2 separate regions of the Homo sapiens genome follow, and region 1 is linked to region 2. Evidence: promoter capture Hi-C in 16 types of primary human blood cells and fetal thymus (Javierre and others, 2016). All regions are on one chromosome and are shown on one strand. Each heading gives the region's core, a stretch centred on a gene start or on the middle of the fragment in contact. The rest is flanking DNA. Distances are from core to core; before and after follow the strand shown. Region 1 has its middle 18 kb from the start of GABRR3. Region 2 holds the start of ARL6 (ARF like GTPase 6).

Region 1 (4,317 bases), core at 1,422-3,921, 290 kb before region 2:
TTGTGCCAACGGACTTGGATGAACAATGGAAGTTAGTGTCTGCCAGTCTTCAACATTTCTCACCTGGGAGTGCCCTAATTAACTAACCAATTAGTACAGCTCTGTGATTTGGGATTTCTGCTCAGCCAATGAACTGCCTCTTTAAGGGACATGATTCAGGACTCAGACATAAGTAATTTAAAAGTCTGCTCTTCAGGCTATCTTGTTAAAAGGTCAAGTACTAGATTTTTCCCACCTCAGAAACTATGAAAAAAAATGTTAAAATAAGAAATTAATTTCCATTGTTTAATATTTGCAAAACTATTGTCCCCTTTGACTATATAGCTGCCTGTGGCTGTTTTCCTCTCGGGGAGTGTGAGGATGTCAGTCCTGCTCTATGTGAATCTAGCTGAGGAAAGCATGTAGAATGTAGTACTCTGGTCTCTAGGTCTCAACCCAAATCAGTGGGGATTTTTCTTGAAATAATATAGGTGTAATGATGAGAGAGAAAGGTTATACATTGACATACGGCCACTATGTAGGCAAGACTAATCAGCCTGTATGGCATATTACATATAAAATTAGAACACTTTGTCGCTGGGGTTGACTATAGAGAGATGGAGACAGGAACTCCTGCAGAGATTCTGCAGCCACAGGGTACACCTGCTTAAAATGGAGTCCCCACAGCAGAAGGCACAGCTCAGATGCAATGAGAGGAACCGGGTTCTGAAAAAACTGAACCCTAACAAACTATTCCTAAAGCCACTGTGCCTCATTTGGGGCTTTGGGTTATATCATTCAACAAACTGCCATTTCTTCACTTTTTTTTAAAGCCAGGGTAAAAGCAATGTATTATGCATATGGAAAAATCTTTCTTGAGTATTTTCTCAAGAGAATACTCTCTTGAGTATTCTCAAGAGTCTAAGTAATAAAAGTAAGGAGGTCAAAGTTTGCCTACTCATGAAAGGGCCAGATAGAATATATACACAATGTAGGTAAGAAAAAAAATTAGCTTAATATATTTAACTGACAGTTGATCAAGCACACCTGCTGGTTCAGGCAGGTGTCAATGCCAGAAAACACTATTCAGGTAGGATATGTGTGTCAGGAATGCAGTGCTCAGTAGGACTACTCAATAAATTAAAAAGTAAAAGTTTTAGAAGAACTCAGAAATTTTCTAACTATATTGCAGAAATTTGAATTACTTTTAGTATTTTTGTTGTTACATTTACATATCTTTCAATGGAGGCAATGAAACATGTTACTTTTCAAAATTGCTTTTAAACCAAATGGAAATCTTAGTTTTAAATGTTTTAAGAGGATATGTGTTGTCATATTTGGCCTAACAGTATTATTTTTATTAACATTCTGATATATTATTATAAATATCTGCTAAAGAGAAAGTTTGAAAAATGCCTTGTTCAAGAATTATTTAGAAGTGCATGAATACTTTGAACACTTTTTAAATTATATAGGTGGGGTCTTCCTTTAAATAACTGCAAGTAAGTTCTAAAACATGTATGTCTGTATTTCATGTAGTTCATTCATGTTACAAAAACTTGTTACTAAGTCTTTGTAAAATGAATGAACTCTTGTGTTTCATTCATGTTACAAAAACAGTAATGTGGCATTATAATTTCAGTTTGAACTTCATCCTTGAGTATGTACTTAAAACAACAACAAAAATGTGGTGTTTGTCCTTAAATGCTCATTAACTATTTTAATGATCAGAATAACTTATAACTAAGACAAGAATATTTAGTCTAAATTTTTTTATTCATTCACTTAACATATTGTGTCCCTACTATGTGTAAAACACAGAAACAATTATTACGATTTGTTTTAACAGAAAGGAAATGGAAAGAATTATGAAAGTGTTCTCCAAAAATATTTCTTTATCATTGTTCTAAGTGTACCTAAAACTTCTTTGTTTTTCATACTGTAAATAAAGGAGTCTGCAGAGGAATTATAATCATGTAGAACGGAAAATACATTTCATTCCACTGTTAATCTGGGCCAGACCTGGGGCACCCATACATGAAGAAGACACTGCTATAGAACAAAGAGACAGAGAGCAGGTGGGCACTGCACATGAGGAAGCTTTTGCTTCTGCCCTTCTCAGAATTCTTTTTCAGTAAGGCAAAGAGGACTTGGGTATAAGAAACTATGATGATCATAAAAGCAAAAGCTTGTATAAAAGCAGTGAAAACCACAAAATCACTAATGAGTTAATAAATGGATCAATGTAAGAAATTGTATATTGTACACTGAAAAAATGGTAAGATTTTTTTAAAATACATATTATTTCTTGAGGGTTATAGAGGAGATTCTAGACAAGAACTAACTAGTCCCATAGCCTGCCACTCATAAGTACCTTAAAATTGAATGTATTAACAACGAAGTGTTTTAAGAGCAAAAGGTACACGGTATATTTTATGCCAAAATCTTAGAAAATGAGACTTTGTTTTGGGTTCAAAAGTGTATTTTCTCATTCTTTCAGGAACTTTTTTATCTTTCTAGAACAAAAAATGATCTGATCCTCTTGGTATTACAAACGGGACTATCACAGTCAAGGTGGAATAAAACATTACAAAAACATCATAGTAGAAAGAATGGCCAGTGTTTTGAATATCTGGATTCAATTTAAGTGATAAGTTAAATAGTAAATTATAAATTTTATTTAAATAACAAATTAAATGGGGAGAAAGGATTAACCAAATTAATAGGCAATGACTAACATAAACATAGGTAAGGCAATGCAGAAAAAGCCTCAAGCTAAAAGTGTATCCATGAGTTTTACAAGCCTGGAAAGTAAATGGAAAGGAAACTAAACGAGATCCTGTGGAAACACAGGGTGAAAAAATATGTCTGTATCATCAATACATGTCTTTAATGACAAACTTTGCATAATTCCGGACATAAAATATGTTTTACATATTCAAATCCCTGCCTTGTTGATCTAAAGCAGGAACTACCTACTTATAAAACAGTAGGCCTAAGTATACAACCATTCAAGGGAACATTTATAAGTATTAGATTTACAACTCTTAAGGTTTAATGACAAGGCCAGCCAGTAGGTGTTACAACGTGACATATTTTTATTTCTATTAACTAGTCACCAATTCTGTATAACTGTAGCTAAAGTCTTCACTTCCCAAGTCTGTGCAGGCCTGAAACTCGTTTTCTCAAAGCTTCTGCTTTGTTAACTCAAAATTAAGGCACAATAATGGAAAATTTAAGGAAAAGTTTTAGAGTTAGTGAAAAACAACAGTAAAAATACATAGAACGATTGGGATTTTTAATTTTTAATTTTTTTTATTTCCAAAGGTTTTGGGGAACAGTTGGTGTTTGGTTATATGAATAAGTTCTTTAGTGGTGATTTCTGAGATTTTGGTGCACCCATCACACAAGCAGTGTAGCCTGTAACCTGTACCCGAGGTGTAGTCTTTTATCCCTCGCCACCACCAACACTTTCCACCGAGTCCCCAAAGTCCAATGTATCGTTCTTATGCCTTTGTGTCCTCATAGCTTAGCTCCCTCATATAAGTGAGACCATACAATGTTTGGTTTTCCATTCCTGAGTTACTTCACCTAGAATATTAGTCTGCAATTCCATCCAGGTTGCTGCAAATGCCATTCTTTCATTCTTTCTTATGGCTGAGTAGTATTCCGTTATATCTATCTATCTATCTCACATTTTCTTTATCCACTTGTTGATTGATGGGCATTTGGGCTGGTTCCACATTTTTGCACCTGCAAATTGTGCTACTATAAACATGTGTGTGCAAGTATCTTTTTCATATAATGGCTTCTTTTCCTCTGGGTAGATACCTAGCAGTGGGATTGCTGGATCAAATGGTAGATCTACTTTTAATTTTTTTTTTTTTTTTTGAGACGGAGTCTTGCTCTGTCGCCCAGGCTGGAGTGCAGTGGTGCGATCTCGGCTCTCTGCAAGCTCCGCCTCCTGGGTTGACGCCGCCTCAGCTTCCCGAGTACCTGGGACTACAGGCGCCCACTACCACGCCCGGCTAATTTTTTGTATTTTTAGTGGAGACAGGGTTTCACCATGTTGGCCAGGATGGTCTCGATCTCTTGACCTCGTGATCCACCCCACTAGACCTCCAAAAGTGCTGGGATTACAGGCATGAGCCACCGCGCCCGGCCTACTTTTAATTTTTTAAGGAATTTTCACGCTGTTTTCCATAGTGGTTGCATTAGTTTGCATTCCCATCAACAGTGTAAAAGTGTTCTCTTTTCACCACATCCACGTCAACATTAATTTTTTTTTCTTTATTCTTGCAGGAGTGAGGTGGTATCGCATTGTGGTTTTGATTTGCA
Region 2 (3,832 bases), core at 1,193-3,692:
TGTCCCTAAAGTGTTCATTTCTCTTGTTCAATTGTATTGATTCTTTGAAAAAAAAATTCTTTCTAATGCAAACTTAAAAAAAAACTATCAGCAATCCAAAAATAGAAGTATTTGGAAGTCAAATAAAACTGCTGTGTACATAAAACTTGCTATGTGGTAACTTTATGGCTGTTTATATTCATCTAAGGTACTGTTAAATTTACACTTCAGGTCTCCAAACTAAACTTTTCAAAGGAGCTCACTTTGGGTCCATTGCTCCCCAAACCATTACTTTGTGGTAGAAGGACAGGGAGATAGATCCCTTTTTCCAGCCCCCAACTGCTGCAGGAACTGCTACAATATATCTATGTACCAAATATTTCTCATTACTCACCAACATTAGTTCTCTAATGTTTTTATTCTCATTAAATTGACTTATTCTCATCTCCATCTAAGGTTGCATAAGCAACCTGTCATATTACAGTTTCTTCAATACTTTTTATTCCATACAATTTCAGGCAAGGCCATACCTTGAAGGATGTGAGGCTGCAGCAACTTTATCAATAACAGGCTTCCAAGACAACTGTATCTAAAAGGAGGTTGCATAGTCAACATTTTGCTTAGGCCTTTTGGGATATGATTATGGGTAGAAATTTCAAAACTAAATTTCAGTGATGTGCAGAGAAGAGATGGAACAGTGCCATGCCAAAAGGTGAGGCCTATTACAGAACCACGTTTGTCTTTCCCCAAGGATGAGTTTGACCTCAGGTACTTCCATTTGTGCCACTTCAATCTGCTTTTCTCCTTGTATCAGAGATTCAAATCTTATTCAGTCCATTTCTTTAAATTACAGCTTAAGGACCAGCATTTGTAAAATCTATTTTAAATTAACCTTCTGATGTCATGAAGCAATTCACACATACCATTTGATTTCAAAGTAAATTTGCTATTACTCACTTTATTTACTGCATAAACATATTGATATAAATGCTTATATCTTGTTCTCCATTTCATAATTTAGAACTTATGTTTTAAAAACGACAACTTCTCACATTTTCCCCCCTTTAAGCATCTACTATAAAGCACTGAGTGTTTAAAGCCTGATGCTTGAATATTCGTTTTTCACAGTACCTTGTATTGTGACTTTCCATCACTTTTCCATGGATTATCACTTGATACTTGTTAATGAAATATTTTGGGACACACAATTTAGAAGAGCAGGCAGTTTTTCTAAAAGAGGTAATCACATTTATTGAAATTGCTTTATAAACAACTATCATAGAGCCTTTAAACTTCTACGTTTCAAGTAGTTATAATTTTCCTTCCATAAGTTGACTTTCTGCATGCATAAATAAAAGATAATTGAAGCCAGTCAATATTTGTTAATCGTGTCTTAAGTGTGCAGCGAGAGACACAACTGTTTTCTGCAGCTTCCTACTCTGATAGCCATGATTCTCAACCCTGGCTGCACTCTGAAATCAATTGCTGAATCCGAATTTTTGAAAATAAGATCAGGGCATCTGTAGTTTTAAAAGCTACCCAGTGTTTCTGATGTGAAGTTACTATTGAGAACTACTGGCTTTCAGAATAAAGCCAGTAGTTTCAAACTTCCAAGCACAGCTTTTAAGGTTGTCCACAATCTGGCTCCAATCTTCCTTTCTTGTTTCTTATCTTACTGTAACCCTCTCTTTGCACACCAGCCAAATTCTCTTGGTTATTGTCTGACAGACTGTTTCCTAAAGGATTACATATTGCCAGAGAAGTCCAGAAGAATTAGGATGTTATCCACAGTTAACAGCTTAGAGGGTAAGCTGCAGAGACAGAGTGGTAGCCCAGAGAAAACACCACGAATGATACTTAGTAAACTCTGTAAAGTGTTTGTTGATTGAAATGTTGCCTACTTTTATTACCCCAAATAAACATTCTTATTCGGCTTTCAGTTTTTTATGATATAATTTAAATTACACTTACACACACACACACACACACACACACACACACACACACACCCCCAATACACGGGTCTAAGTTGAGCATTGTTAAAACCCATCAACCAAACATACGTCCAAACCAGTTTAGTAAGTTTTCTAGGGCCTCTATAACTCACCTTCTTTTCTACTTCTCATACATTAGCAACAACTACACGCGTGGAGTGAAAAACATGGGAAAGACCAAAGAGGAATTCTAAAACTGACGGGGACAGAGGGTGGCGCTGGCTTTAAAAACCGGCGTTGAGGAGATACCTGGTTTTTGAGGTTAGTCCGGAGGGCGCAGGAGCTGGCAACAGGAATGGACGCACTCGTATCGGTCTCCGGGATGGAAATCTGGTGCGAGGGTCCCTCAGCCTTCTTCTCGATGCCTACATGGGAAGGATGCCTGGTAATGAGCAAAGCCGTCTCTAGAAGTTGGGAAAACCGGCAGCCTCTGCAGCAGTCTGTGCATCAGTCGCTGAGCAGGCGCCTTGGCAGGCACCGTTCCCTTGGCAACAGGAGCTTCTTCCGGTCCTGAAGCCACGCCTCCCCGGGGGTCCTGGCGATTCAGCCGTTGTGCTATAGCTTCTGGGATTGAAGAGCTCCGGGAAAAGGTCAGAGGCGCGCCGAGGAACTATACATTGAAGAAAAATGTGTGCACAGGTGGCAGGGTGAGCTGCCTATTTCCTGCGAGGAGCCGGGCAGTTCCCGGCGTAGCATCATGGGAGTTGTAGGCTCGCGCACAGCTTTCTGGGAAGCGTTTGGCGTTCGCGTGTGCTGCGTGTTTGTCGCTCGGCCCTGGTCTTCCTGGGGATCCAAGAGGCTGGCGCTGGGTGTGGCGCGGAGAGTGTCGTTACCGGGCACCAGCGTAGCGTTGTGGCAACGACTGCAAGACGATACTGTCCCCCCTGGGGCAAGATGTGCGCCGGAGTTCCCCAGTTGCCCATCGCACCGACTCTTCTCTGGGTTCTGATAGGCCTCCCACCCTGAGTCCCTGTAGAGGTAAAACTGTTAATACAGGAAGGTAGAGGGGAGAACTGGTGTAAAAAGTCAAAAGGTGTTATTCGGCTAATAAAGTATGCCTGTACCCCTGCTTCTTAGTTGTGTGGTCTCCCGAAGAGATTTCTACCAGGCATAATCTCCTGTGAGTAGATTACAGTCTCCAGAATCAAATCGGCAGGTGGTCAGGAAAGGTATTAATAGTCAATACTTAAAGTTGACCACCTTCTTAAATTGCACTTGGATTTTATAGTCATAGTCACAAATGGTCTTCAAATAGAAAATATTTAGGCATACCCTTCCCCACATCTTTTATTACTGCGTTTTCCAACGGACACATTACAGATGCAGTCATTTTAAAGATCTAGCCTTTCAATCTGCCCAACTCCACTAACCTCACCCCCAGCGAATGGCCTCATTCTTCAAATAGGGGTTTGTATCTCTTCATTTTTTTTGTTTGCATGGGTGTAGGATTTCCGACCCCCTGCCCCCCACCGCGCGACCCTTTTCAACTAGCTAGTGTATGTTTACTGCACTGCCTGTTCTTTGGCCTGTCAATTCATTTGGCCTATTAAATGGACTAGGAGGGTGCAAAAAGAGACTAGAAGGAATTATTTCAAAGTAATATGGTAGGGGGGACGGTTGTAAGCGTGTGATTATGGGGTGATTTATCTTTTGTCACTTCTCCAAATTTCCAAATGTAATTGTCATTTTTACAGCGAAAAAACAAAAGCGGCTCTGGATTAGTGATTCTTGTTGAAAGACAAAAACAAAACAAAGACCCTATGGATGCATATCAACATATAAATGTCCTTGTAAAAATGGAGTATGGAAATACATTCTTTCTTACTGTGTGGTCTTAGCCCAATTTACCCTTCTCCGTG

Evidence for each region. The method cuts DNA at HindIII sites, captures the fragments that hold promoters and counts their contacts. A CHiCAGO score of 5 or more calls a contact.
Region 1: a fragment that was not itself captured here is called in contact with the fragment with the promoter of ARL6 in region 2 in 8 of 17 cell types (activated CD4 T cells, total B cells, naive CD4 T cells and 5 more); the score reaches 8.5 in activated CD4 T cells.

What each region holds. Positions count from the first base shown.
Region 1 is chr3:98,051,293-98,055,609 of GRCh38, reverse strand. It overlaps the pseudogene OR5BM1P. Among named protein-coding and RNA genes, the nearest start is that of GABRR3, 18 kb to the right of the region's middle. The HindIII fragment of the contact is 1,003 bases long and covers 2,170-3,172 here.
Region 2 is chr3:97,763,368-97,767,199 of GRCh38, reverse strand. It overlaps ARL6 (ARF like GTPase 6), which reads right to left and starts at 2,442. Exons shown (of 8, transcript NM_001278293.3): 1 at 2,223-2,442. RefSeq lists enhancers at 2,285-2,394, 2,110-2,609, 2,435-2,974, 2,610-3,111. The HindIII fragment of the contact is 6,880 bases long and covers 1-3,832 here.